4 separate regions of the Homo sapiens genome follow, and regions 1, 3 and 4 are each linked to region 2. Evidence: promoter capture Hi-C in 16 types of primary human blood cells and fetal thymus (Javierre and others, 2016). All regions are on one chromosome and are shown on one strand. The core of a region is centred on a gene start or on the middle of the fragment in contact, and the rest is flanking DNA. Distances in the headings are between cores, read along the strand shown.

The links. Contacts are between HindIII fragments. The CHiCAGO score rates a contact against its expected background, and 5 or more counts as called.
Region 1: a contact is called between a fragment that was not itself captured here and the fragment with the promoter of CD79B in region 2, in 13 of 17 cell types (total B cells, naive B cells, total CD8 T cells and 10 more). The highest score is 12.7, in total B cells.
Region 3: a contact is called between a fragment that was not itself captured here and the fragment with the promoter of CD79B in region 2, in 3 of 17 cell types (total CD8 T cells, naive CD4 T cells and naive CD8 T cells). The highest score is 6.8, in total CD8 T cells.
Region 4: the fragment with the promoter of PRR29 here is called in contact with the fragment with the promoter of CD79B in region 2 in 17 of 17 cell types (naive CD8 T cells, endothelial precursors, total CD8 T cells and 14 more); the score reaches 24.7 in naive CD8 T cells.

What each region holds. Positions count from the first base shown.
Region 1 is chr17:64,023,269-64,026,098 of GRCh38, reverse strand. No RefSeq gene overlaps it. Among named protein-coding and RNA genes, the nearest start is that of ICAM2, 4.1 kb to the right of the region's middle. RefSeq lists an enhancer at 302-351 and cis regulatory regions at 1-394, 1,496-1,933. The HindIII fragment of the contact is 2,924 bases long and covers 1-2,788 here.
Region 2 is chr17:63,930,986-63,933,835 of GRCh38, reverse strand. It overlaps CD79B (CD79b molecule), which reads left to right and starts at 1,505. Exons shown (of 6, transcript NM_000626.4): 1 at 1,505-1,641; 2 at 2,451-2,501. The coding sequence starts at 1,575. RefSeq lists enhancers at 1-254, 829-878, 889-998, 855-1,525, 1,499-1,888 and 2 more and a silencer at 2,586-2,655. The HindIII fragment of the contact is 15,563 bases long and covers 1-2,850 here.
Region 3 is chr17:64,043,492-64,046,191 of GRCh38, reverse strand. It overlaps ERN1 (endoplasmic reticulum to nucleus signaling 1), which reads left to right. Exons shown (of 22, transcript NM_001433.5): 20 at 710-833; 21 at 1,265-1,332; 22 at 1,992-2,700. The coding sequence ends at 2,204. Among named protein-coding and RNA genes, the nearest start is that of ICAM2, 24 kb to the right of the region's middle. The HindIII fragment of the contact is 4,060 bases long and covers 1-2,700 here.
Region 4 is chr17:63,996,907-63,999,606 of GRCh38, reverse strand. It overlaps PRR29 (proline rich 29), which reads right to left and starts at 1,256. Exons shown (of 6, transcript NM_001164257.2): 1 at 1,183-1,256; 2 at 825-900; 3 at 533-639. The coding sequence starts at 1,242. It overlaps PRR29-AS1 (PRR29 antisense RNA 1), which reads left to right. Exons shown (of 3, transcript NR_126169.1): 1 at 1-1,282; 2 at 1,685-1,842; 3 at 2,344-2,700. RefSeq lists an enhancer at 93-1,070 and a silencer at 1,324-1,373. The HindIII fragment of the contact is 13,369 bases long and covers 1-2,700 here.

The DNA of each region.
Region 1 (2,830 bases), core at 77-2,576, 92 kb before region 2:
AAACAGTCTCTCAGGGGATCCTAGCCCATTCCAAATCTACCTGTGATTGCAGAATCGCAAGGAATGTGATTTACCGCAGATCGCGGGGCGTCGTGTCTTTTAGGGGACCTGCTCACTTTGGCCACTAGGTGGCGGGCAGTGCAGCCCCTGCTCCTGTCGACCCTGAGCGTTCAGCGTTTCCGCCGCCTCCGCCCCACTCCGTAGGGGGAGCTGATGAGATGAGGTTGAGGTCCAGGAAGACGTCAAGGGCTTGGTTTTGTAAACAACTCCATTCCTCGCTCGCTGATAAGTTTTCTAAGTGATGCATATTCACAACCTTGTCCCATCCAAGGACCCAAGAATTAACACATTACATAATATGGACAGCCCCCTCCTGTCCAACGGGCATGATTTTGGGGTCTGATATTCTGTGGATCTGTGCAATAGTCAACACACGTGCTGGGATGTCCTTGGGCACAGCCTACAAGGACACAGATAGGTGCACGTCCGGGCACCAACTCACAATAACCACAAACTTTGTTGAGTGCTTCCGTGTACCAGGCTATCAGCCAGCGTTTTACAAATCATCACACTTTCCTCTCAGAAGCCCTTGAGGGGGGGTCTGAAGGGGGTGAGAGGGGCTCCCTAGTATGAAAGCTCAGACGTTGGGTCCCAACTGCCTGGATTGGAATCTTGGTTCAGCCTCTTGCTGGCTGTGTGCCAGCTACTGCCCGCCATCTACTGTACCATGTCTCACGTTCTTCATCTGTAAGAGGCATAACAACAGTATCGAGTCATAGGCTTGTTATGAGGATGAAATGTGATGATACTTACTGTGGAGTGCTTAGAACAGTGTGTGGCATATGTAGTAAGCATGTCACAAACGTTGGCTATTATTATTATCCCATTTTGCAGATAAGCAAACTGAAGGTCAGAGAGGTTACACAACTTGCTCAAGGTCACACAGCCTTATAATTCCACTCTGCCAGACTGAGCTCACAGTCTCTGTTAGTCAGTCTATAGGCTGGTGACACCTCTAGTTTCTACTTGTGGTTTTGATTAGCTGGACGCTATGTGAATTGAGAACACTTTCGTATTCCGCTGAAACAGTGTGGTCCTCATTTCTAAGAAGTTCCCGGGTGATACTGATGCCAGCAGCAGCGTCATTACCTGGGAACCTGTTAGAAATGCAAAAAATTCTCAGGCCTCCCTCCAGACCTACTACTCAGGAACTCTAGGGATGGGGCCCGGTGGGCTGTTGCGGCAAGCCCCCCAGTGATCCTGACACACGTTCAAGTTTGAAACCCCTTGCTATAAAATATGTGTCTCCTAAAACCAAGCTGCTAGCTTACATTCAATAAACATTTACCTAGCATGATCTTGGCAGTTCAAAGAGGAATGTGCCAGAAACCAAGCAAAGAAGAAAAAGAAATAAATGGAAATGGAAAGTGATCTGCTCAGAGGCCACAAAGTTGAGGGAGGAGGTTTCCAGAGTGGGATTTGGCCCAAATGTTGCCTGAGGAAGTACGTAAAGGGGTCTCAACTCTGGCTACACAACAGAACAGCAGGACTGTGTGTGCAGCTCACGAAGTGGGTACACAGGGTAATCTGCAAGTTCTGGGTGGATCTAGCACCTGGATTGTTAAAACTTGCATAGATGGCCAGCGTTCATACTTTCTGCTTGTTTGTACAAAGTCATTCTTCTAGAGTAATTGTTGTAAAATTGCTAGGCAAGGTGGCAGGTCTGATAAGATTTGATGACGTAATGGCTCTTAGTCGCTAATAAGAGGCTTTTGTGGAGTGGCGTGTCACAGCCAGCGAAGGCTCAGCTCTGTGATCTTCGCCTGCCTCACTTGGGGGACCAGAAGGCAGCTTGTCTTGGAACTGCCTCATTCACAGAAGACCCCATTGAGTACAGAAACTGCACATCAAAGGGAGGAGTAAGGAAAACAAGATGGTGAATCCTCAAAAATTAAACAAAATTACCTTTTTAATTTTTTTTTTTTGTAGAAACGGGGTCTCACTTTGTCACCCAGACTGGTCTTGAAGTCCTAGGCTCAAGCAATTCTCCCATCTCAGCCTCCCAAAGTGCTGGATTTACAGGTGTGAGCCACTCACCTCAGCCAGAATTACCACTGAAAAAAAGAAAAAAGGTTAAGATGGTAAATTTTGTTGTGTATATTTTACCAGTATGATCCAGCATTTCCACTTCTGGGTACATGCCCCAGAGAATTGAAAGCAGAGTCTCGATCAGGTATTTGTACAACCCTGTTGATAGCAGCACTATTCACAATAGCCAAAGGTGGAAGCAACACAGGTGTCCCTCAATATATGAATGGATGAACAGAATGCAGCACACACGCACAATAAAATATTACTCAGCCTTCAAAAGGAAGGCAGTTCTGGCCAGGCACAGTGGCTCACTCCTGTAATCCCAGCACTTTGGAAGGCCGAGGCAGGCAGATCACTTGAGGTCAAGAGTTCAAGACCAGCCTGGCCAATATGGTGAAACCCCGTCTCTACTAAAAATACAAAAATTAGGTGGACATGGTGGCAGATGCCTGTAATCCCATCTACTCAGGAGGTTGAGGCAGGAGAATCCCTTGAACCTGGGAGGCAGAGGTTGCAGTGAGCTGAGATCACACCATCACTGTCCTCCAGCCTGGGCGATAGAGCAAGACTCTGTCTCAAAAAGAAAGGAAAAAAAAAGGATAAAAAAAAGAAAGAGCCAGAAGGTGAGGTACCATGATGCCAACCTTGGACCAATCATTTGACCAGGAAGGTGGAGCTGAGTAGGAAGATGGAAGCTTCCCAAAAAACTTGTCTAAAGTAGAAAAAGAAGGGGTTATCT
Region 2 (2,850 bases), core at 256-2,755:
CAAGCTGACCTCAGGTGATGTTTATATTTCTGAGCTGTTTATTCCATGAACTGAACATCTGACAGCTTTTCAGAGAAATGTTTTTTCATTTGGAACATCTGGAAACAAGAAAGAACATCTGGGGCTGCCCGGAACGGGCTGTTCCTCGGATGAAACCTTAACCCTCCTGCCCCTGACTTCCGTGGCTCAGGTCCTGGCCTGCACCCCTTGAGAGTGGCCCCCACCTTATCAGGTCCGAGGCCTAGGCCAAGATCTAAAGAGGGACCACCCAGACCCTCTGCCTTCCAACCATGGCATGGGAGGTGGTTCTGCTTCTCCCTAAATCCAGACAGACCTGCCCCAGCACAGACTGGAAAACGGAGGGTTGTGAGGAGAGTGAGAGGTGGACAGAGGGCACCGACGATTTAGCATCTCTTCCTCTCCTGGGGGTCGAGGATGAGAGACAAAAAAGAAGCTGCCAGGAAACATAAAATTCAGAGGGCTCAGCTGCAGGGCTGAGGTCTGCAAGCATGCTGTGTACACTTGTGCATGTTGTGCCCTGCACAAGGGCATCTCTGAAGGGGCTGCATTGGACCCAGGGGCAGGGGCGCAAAGGTGAGTTTATATCAGTTCCTGAGCACTGTGGCTCCATCCAGCACTCTGAGGACAGGCAGGATACAGCTGGAGGACCTGAGGGCTCCCCCACACCAGCTCCTGTTCCCTGCCCAAGACCCCCTGGACCTGCAGACAACAATTCAACGCACTCAGAGTCCCACAGTTAAGAACTCCCTGAAGAAGCCCCCAGTGGCTGCGTGGTGGATTTTCGCAAAGCTGTCTCCACCTACATCCACCCTGTTTGGCAGCCCCTACATACTCTTTCACAGCATGAGGAAGGGAGGCCTCTCACCAAGACCTGGACTGAATCTTCTCCCAGTGGCTGCCACACTTGACCTGCTCTTGCTCCAGAACCTCTGTGGCTCCCATCCTCCACAGGGTCAACTTCCAACATGGCTGCCTGCACTCCAGCCAAGAGGCTCTGCTCTGGGCCCCTCCAGATGCCTGACCTGGGTCTGTGGCTGCCCTGTCCTTCTTCAGTGCTCCTCTTCCCGCTGGGTGAGGAATAGTTCAGGACAGAGGAGCTAAGTTCAGGTTCATTCATAGGACAGGTGCCTATTTCGCTCACGGCCCAGGAATAGAGACTTGCCGGGCTCGGCCCTTCGGGGAGTTGGCAGACGGCAGAGGGGAGGCTGGCTGGCCCAGGGGATGACCACCGGTGGGGTAAGCACAGACAGAGGGGAGCACAGGCTTCCCCCAGAAGACTGAGAGGCCCCCCAGAGGCATCCACAGAGGACCCCAGCTGTGCTGCCCAAGCTGGGCGACCGCCAAACCTTAGCGGCCCAGCTGACAAAAGCCTGCCCTCCCCCAGGGTCCCCGGAGAGCTGGTGCCTCCCCTGGGTCCCAATTTGCATGGCAGGAAGGGGCCTGGTGAGGAAGAGGCGGGGAGGGGACAGGCTGCAGCCGGTGCAGTTACACGTTTTCCTCCAAGGAGCCTCGGACGTTGTCACGGGTTTGGGGTCGGGGACAGAGCGGTGACCATGGCCAGGCTGGCGTTGTCTCCTGTGCCCAGCCACTGGATGGTGGCGTTGCTGCTGCTGCTCTCAGGTACAGAACCCACGACGAGGCCTGTGGGGTTTGCTCTCATCTCCAGCTGTCTGGGCCCTGCGGCTCTGCCTCCTGCTTGCTCCACCCTCCTCCTCTGTCTCTCACTCTTTACCGCCTGTCTCCCTCTCATGGCCCTGGGGCCTGGGTCTGTGGGTGTCAGCTGCACGTGGTGATGGGCTCAGGAGCCTGTGGCCCCAGTTCCTCTCCTGCCTGGAGAGCATCAGGCTGAGCTGGGCATGAGGAGCAAACCAGAGTTAGCAACCAGGACCGTGGAAGAACTAGGCTCAGGAGGAAGAGAGGCTGAGGGCGGTGCCTGGGGGTCGGGAGGGGAGAGGCTGTCCCAACCGGACCCTGGAAGATGCAAGATCCAAATGTGGTCCCCTCCTCTGGGAGGTGAAAGATCCTCCGGGCTGTGACTTTCTTCCTGTCTCTCTTTAAAAAAAAAAAAAAAAAGAGAGACAGGGTGTCCCTATGTTGCCCAGGCTGGTCTCAAACTCCTGGACCCAAGCGATCCTCCTGTCTTGGCCTCTCAAAATACTGAGATTTCCCTGTCCCTCCTGTCTCATTCAGATGCCTGCTCAAAGCCACCATGAGGGTCAAAGGCAGAAAGGGGGCTGGGGGCAGGGCTTCCGGTACCCCCACCCCATATCTGTCTCCCAAGTACTGGGGGCAGGGAGGACCGAGGGGTCTTGAAGCTGCTGTCATGGAAGGAGGAAGTAGCTCCGGGAACATAGAGGGCATGCAGGGGTGGGGCAGCCCAGGCCAGAGGAGGCCCTGACTGGCCCCGCCCACTTCCTCCCACCCAGCAGCTGAGCCAGTACCAGCAGCCAGATCGGAGGACCGGTACCGGAATCCCAAAGGTCAGTAGCCTCGCCTGCCGCTTCTGAGGGCAAGTTGTGTGCGACTATGTCCTGTGTCCGACTATGGTCCCTGTCCTGGGGGCGGTCCGCCTTCCCACCCTTGCCTGATCTCCCCATCCAGGATTCCCATCCCCAGGCCTCCTTAGGATCTCCTCTGAGCCCCACCCCCAGCCCACTGTCATCCTCATCAGACACATGCCCTCCAGCCTTGGCCACTGAAGGGCTGGGCTAAACTCTGGGTCATAGCAAGGGAGCCTGGGGGTTCCTCTAGGACTCAGGCCCGGGCCTGTCTAGCTGGGAATCTGGCTGAGTCTCGGGTGAGCCCTCCAGTGCAGGGTCACTATGTGAG
Region 3 (2,700 bases), core at 36-2,535, 110 kb before region 2:
CTGCTCTGAGAAAAGGGTCTCCTAAGGCTACTTAACATTGATGTAGACAGGGCTCACCACTCCCTGTGTCCTCAGCTGTCGACCTGTCTTACTGGTGGGACTTCAAGAGGCCATACTTGGGTGCTTCCTGACCCTCTCCTTATTACCAAAGTCAAATGCAGAGCAAGGTTTGAATCCCAACAGGAGCCTCTGGAGCCCATACTCTTGCCACCAAGTTTCCTCTTTGAGAAGAAGGCCCAGCTTCACAGGTCTTTTCTACTGGTGGAGGGAAGAGTGGCGACCCTCCACCAGTTATGGGCTTGAGCATACCCTGTTTCAGTGAGTAGACAAAGCACGGGATGCACATCAAATCTGAGCTTTCCTTTTCTTTTTGGTTTTGGTTCATTGGATATAGATTGCACTTGCGGCTCCGTACACATGGCGTGTGTGTGCACATGTGAAATTCAGGGTATGCGTTCGTGGTCTATATGCAGGTGTACTCTGTGACACCTCTCTGACATGGGAGAAGCTCTCTGTGGGCCTGTGCTTCGTGAGGAACAGAGCAGCTCACAGGGAAAGTCATGGATGAGGGAGGGAGGGGGCAGGGTGCCTGCTGCCCAGCTCTGGGGCAGGCTTATGTGTCAGTGATGATCTGTTACTGAGTCCCAGTCGCACAGCTCTCAGCATCTCCAGCACTGACCATCATCTGCTGCCCTTGTTTCTCTCACAGGACGTGAGCGACAGAATAGAAAAGGAATCCCTGGATGGCCCGATCGTGAAGCAGTTAGAGAGAGGCGGGAGAGCCGTGGTGAAGATGGACTGGCGGGAGAACATCACTGTCCCCCTCCAGACAGGTGATCATGCTGCAGCGTGTGAGAGGGCAGGTTGCAAAAGTCGCTGCCGCCTTTCCAAAAAGTAAACGTGGAAATGGCCGCTCCAGGCTGTTCAGGCCCCACATCCCACCTGTCAGGTTTGAGACTTTCTTGGGTGTGTCCTCTGTGGTTTGGTTACACTGATGTGTGTTTCATTTTTGTTCCCTAGAGTGACAGGTGAGTGATGGTGTCGTGCTCTAGGTGGTCATTTCTGACCTGGGTGTGATCACCAGGTGGGGTTCAGGGGGATACCACCCTTGGGTTGGATGGGAGGATCTGCTCCCATGCCTAGGTGTGGAGTGACCTCACCTTTCAGTCCAACTCCCTAATCCCAGGACCCCATGAATTGTTTTCTTTTAAAATGTATTAGTTTTAAATTTGATTACCCATTGCTTCCCTCAATGTTTTTCTAGACCTGCGTAAATTCAGGACCTATAAAGGTGGTTCTGTCAGAGATCTCCTCCGAGCCATGAGAAATAAGGTAAGCAGTTTGTAAATGCTGGGGAGGAGACCCAGTGGCCATGACATGGACACCTTCCTCCTTTCATCCATTCTTTATAAATCTTTTATCTGTACTGGCATTCTCATCTCTCAGGAGCTAGGCGGCTTCAGCTGGACTTGGCAAACTGCAGGCTGTTGCCTCTCTTACGCTGATTTTCCCTTCAGGGACGTAGGTGCAGGTGAAGCTCCGGGAAGCAGTGCTCTGCGGCCCATGTCCCTCATGGTCTCTGGTCGCTGACTTTTGTGGGGCCCTCTCCCTGTCTGATGCAGCCACTGTGTGTAAACATGTATAAACATACCTCAAATGCGGGGACCCCACTGGGACGGACACTCCAATCTCAGGCGACTTTACTCCTCCTGAGGTGGCCAGGAGTGTCTCCAGGTCCTGACTGTCACAGAAGGCCTGAGCACCCCCTGGACTGGCTGGGCCTTGCTCACTTCAAGGCCTCCTCCTGAGTGAGGGTAGCAGGCGAGATGACGGGGCTGGATTCTTGGATACATAAGCCTTTTTTCTTTTTCTTTACCAAAAACCAACACTCACATTCTGTCTCTTCCTTGCATGATGAAAGGGTGTTTTGCCAACATTTCCCGAGCTTTCTAACCCCTTTCTAATCTCCCGAGCTTTCTAACTCTTTGCAGAAGCACCACTACCGGGAGCTGCCTGCAGAGGTGCGGGAGACGCTGGGGTCCCTCCCCGACGACTTCGTGTGCTACTTCACATCTCGCTTCCCCCACCTCCTCGCACACACCTACCGGGCCATGGAGCTGTGCAGCCACGAGAGACTCTTCCAGCCCTACTACTTCCACGAGCCCCCAGAGCCCCAGCCCCCAGTGACTCCAGACGCCCTCTGAGCGAGGGCGGCCCCTCTGTTCTGGTGGCCCCAGCTGTGACTGAGGGCCTGGTCACCACAATTAGAGCTTGATGCCTCCCGGCTTTGCAGGGAGACCAGGCTTCCCAAACCAAGTGCCTTGAGCTGCCTGCTCTGCAGCCCACAGAGGACAGTGCTGACCCCAGGAAGTGGGAGAAGTGGCCCCTCGTGACCTACAGGGAACTGGGAAGATGCTGGCCCCAAAAGCCTTACGGTCATGATGTCTGCAAAGGAGGGCCTCAGAGACAGCGCGAGTAGCACCCCCAGCCATCTACTGGATAAACTTGCTTCAGACTTTTTAAATTCCTGCTTAATGTCAGTCTACAGGCCTTTCAGGAAGGGAGAGGAGGGAATCGTACATTTTGCTTGCGTGCTGGGACAGCTAGGCTGAGATGCACCAAGTACAGCCTTCACTGGAGACCGGAATTGAGAGGTGGGGGATGCTGAGGAGGGGGAGGACGGAGTTCAGAGGGTGTCGT
Region 4 (2,700 bases), core at 7-2,506, 66 kb before region 2:
GGTCAAAATCCTACCTGGCTTTCAAGGGCTGGTTCTAAGATCCTCTGCTCCTCCAAGGAGCCTGTCCCCATCCCCCAACCCTATGTGCACTTGTGCTTTGTACCTCTCCATGTGCCATCACAGCCAACCTGGCTTTGTATCCCTAACCATTCATTTATTCATTCACTCGTTCAACAAATATCAGCTGAGCCCCTACACGGTGTCAGGCACCAGGCCAGACGCTCATGATGCATGGGGCAGGGTTACCAGGGTGCCTACCTTCCTGGAGCCTTAAGTCCAGTGGGGGAGGCACTACAGGGAAACCTCCTTGAAAACAAGACCTCGGTGGTCTGGACTTTGGGGGGTCTCTTCCCCGCCCCAACCTTTCATGGAGGCTGAAACATGACAGATGCCAAACAGCCCCAGCCAGAGAGACGGGCTGGCTTCCTGCTCCTCTGTCTCCCAGTTCTTTTCCCCCCTGAACAGGAACCCCAGGTGGATCCGCATCCCTGGACCCACAGGTGAGCGACCCCGGCGGCCCACCCACACGCACCTGAGGGCAGGGCGAGGCAGGCCGGGGCTGCAGCGCTCCAGCCACCAGGCGACTCAGCAGCAGCTGGTGCATCTGCGCGTTCTGCAGCATCATCAGTTCCAGCAGGTCTAGGAAGCGGGGTTCAGCAAGCCCACGCCGGGCCTCCGAGTCCCCCTCCCCCTGACACCCCTGTCCCGGGGGTGAAGAATGGGTTGGCGGGTTGTGCTGCGGGGACTCCCAGAGGATGTGCGAGGCAGAAGAGGGTGAGTGGTGGTGATGGTGGGGGTGGGGTGGGGGGACCCGGGAGTCTCACCTTCCTTCACGCGGCCTGGCTGCGGGGGCGCAGGTGGGACGGCCCACGAGAGGGGCTGCAGGAAGGTGACCCAGGGCTGGGGGTGTGCGCGGAGTCAGCCAGGTGGGGTGGGGGGAATGGATGGGGACACGTCGCGAGCCCCAACCCCCCCGGCCAGTGGCCTCCCTAACCCCGCAGGGGCCAGGTTCTCTCCTCCCCGCCCCGCGGCCTCCCTGCTCCCTGCCACGCCTCTTCCTCTCGGTTTGGGGCTGTCTCTCCTCGTCCCCCACCCCTCCAGGATCTGGCCCCTCCAGGGACAGCTCCCCACTCTGCCGTCTCCCAAGCTAAGGCAGGATCTGCTCCCGGGCTCAGCCCTCACCGTCGGGACTGCGCTCTGCGGTGGGGAGCGACCCCAGCTTCCGCCCGCCCCAGAGGCCATGGCTGGCGCCGGTTGCCTTGGCGACGCCGAGGACGCCAAGGTCTCTTCCCACGCATGCGCGGAGCCCGCCCGTGCTCCTGGGTCTTCCATCTCCCTGCTCCCTCCTGTCTCCTCCTCCGCGGACTTGGGGTCCCCAGGAGCCCTCCCCCGCCACCAGGAGGCCAGTCTCCTCCCCGGCATGTCCACCTCCCGCCGCGCTGCTCGGGGCTCCCCTCCCCTCCCCTTGCTGGTTCCCAGAACTGGGCCTGGGTTAGTGCGGGGAAGGGGGGTGTGTTTGTTGAGTGAATAAGCGAGTGACTGGGGAGGCTTGGTTTCGGGGTCCCAGAGCCCGATTGACTCAGCTGAAAAGTTCAGGAGAAACAGAGACTTTTGCAGGAGCAGGCTGGGGGCTAGGGCAGACGAGTGAGGAGGACAAAGGGTCTGTTCCCTGTCACTCTGACAGAGAGAGGGGCTTCCTGCCAGGAAAGAGTGGTTTCTGGAGCAGACCAAGGAAGGAAACACCGCCCGAATTCACGGAAGAGGCTGAGGACTCTGGCTGGAAACACGTGGCCGGCTTCTCGCCTCTCTCCTTGCGGCTATTTGCCCTGTTTCCTGGCCAAGGTGAGCCACTGCTCCTCAGACGAGGAAAATCGTGGTGACTTCAGCACCCGCGTCCCCAGTACTGTCTCCCGTACTGGAAAAGTTACCAAAGCACGCGTTCTTTTGACAGGAAGTTAGCAAGGTCTTCCTTGCTTAAGAACAGGTGAAGGGGGAGATCTATTTCTGCAGCTGTGACCATCCTAAGATAGGCCCCCGGCAGCAGTCAAGGAAAATCCAGACAGGAAGCTGGGCTTAGCACCCCGAGTAGCCCTTCCCCCACTCTCCATGTCAGCTCCCCTTCCTGCCAGTCCTGGAGTAAGAACCAGAAAGACCATTCCCACCTCCTCCTTTGCTCCGTAGTACCTGTCTCTAGGGGAGCAGGCTTGTGGGCATTACTTTACTGTCCCCATGGGTCTTATGGCTTCAACAGCCATTAACAAGCTGAGATCCAGGCACTGGGGTCACAGCCCCCCAGTGAGTAGAACACAGAGATGCCTCTCTCCATCTCCATTCTCATTCCAGGTAGAAAGAGAACAAGCCATTTTGCTCATCATCAACAAACCTTGACCAAGGAAGTGTCTGCGTGTGCAATGTGCCATCTGAACCCTGGAGGCATAAGCAGTATGGTCACTTGTCCCAGCATTGTTGGGAAGTGAAAATGTATCCATGGAAAGAGAGCAGAAAGATAAGACTACGCCCCGGGGATAATGAAAAAGAGAGGACTTGACCGCTGAGGGATGGAGTTCCAAGGAAGTCAGTCCTTGATGGGGCCAAGCAGCAGGGGAAGACGGGCGCTATCAGGCTGGGGACAGAGCCCAAGCCAAGACCCAGGTGTATGAATGGACAGGACCTGAGATGACCCGGTGGGTCAAACTGTCT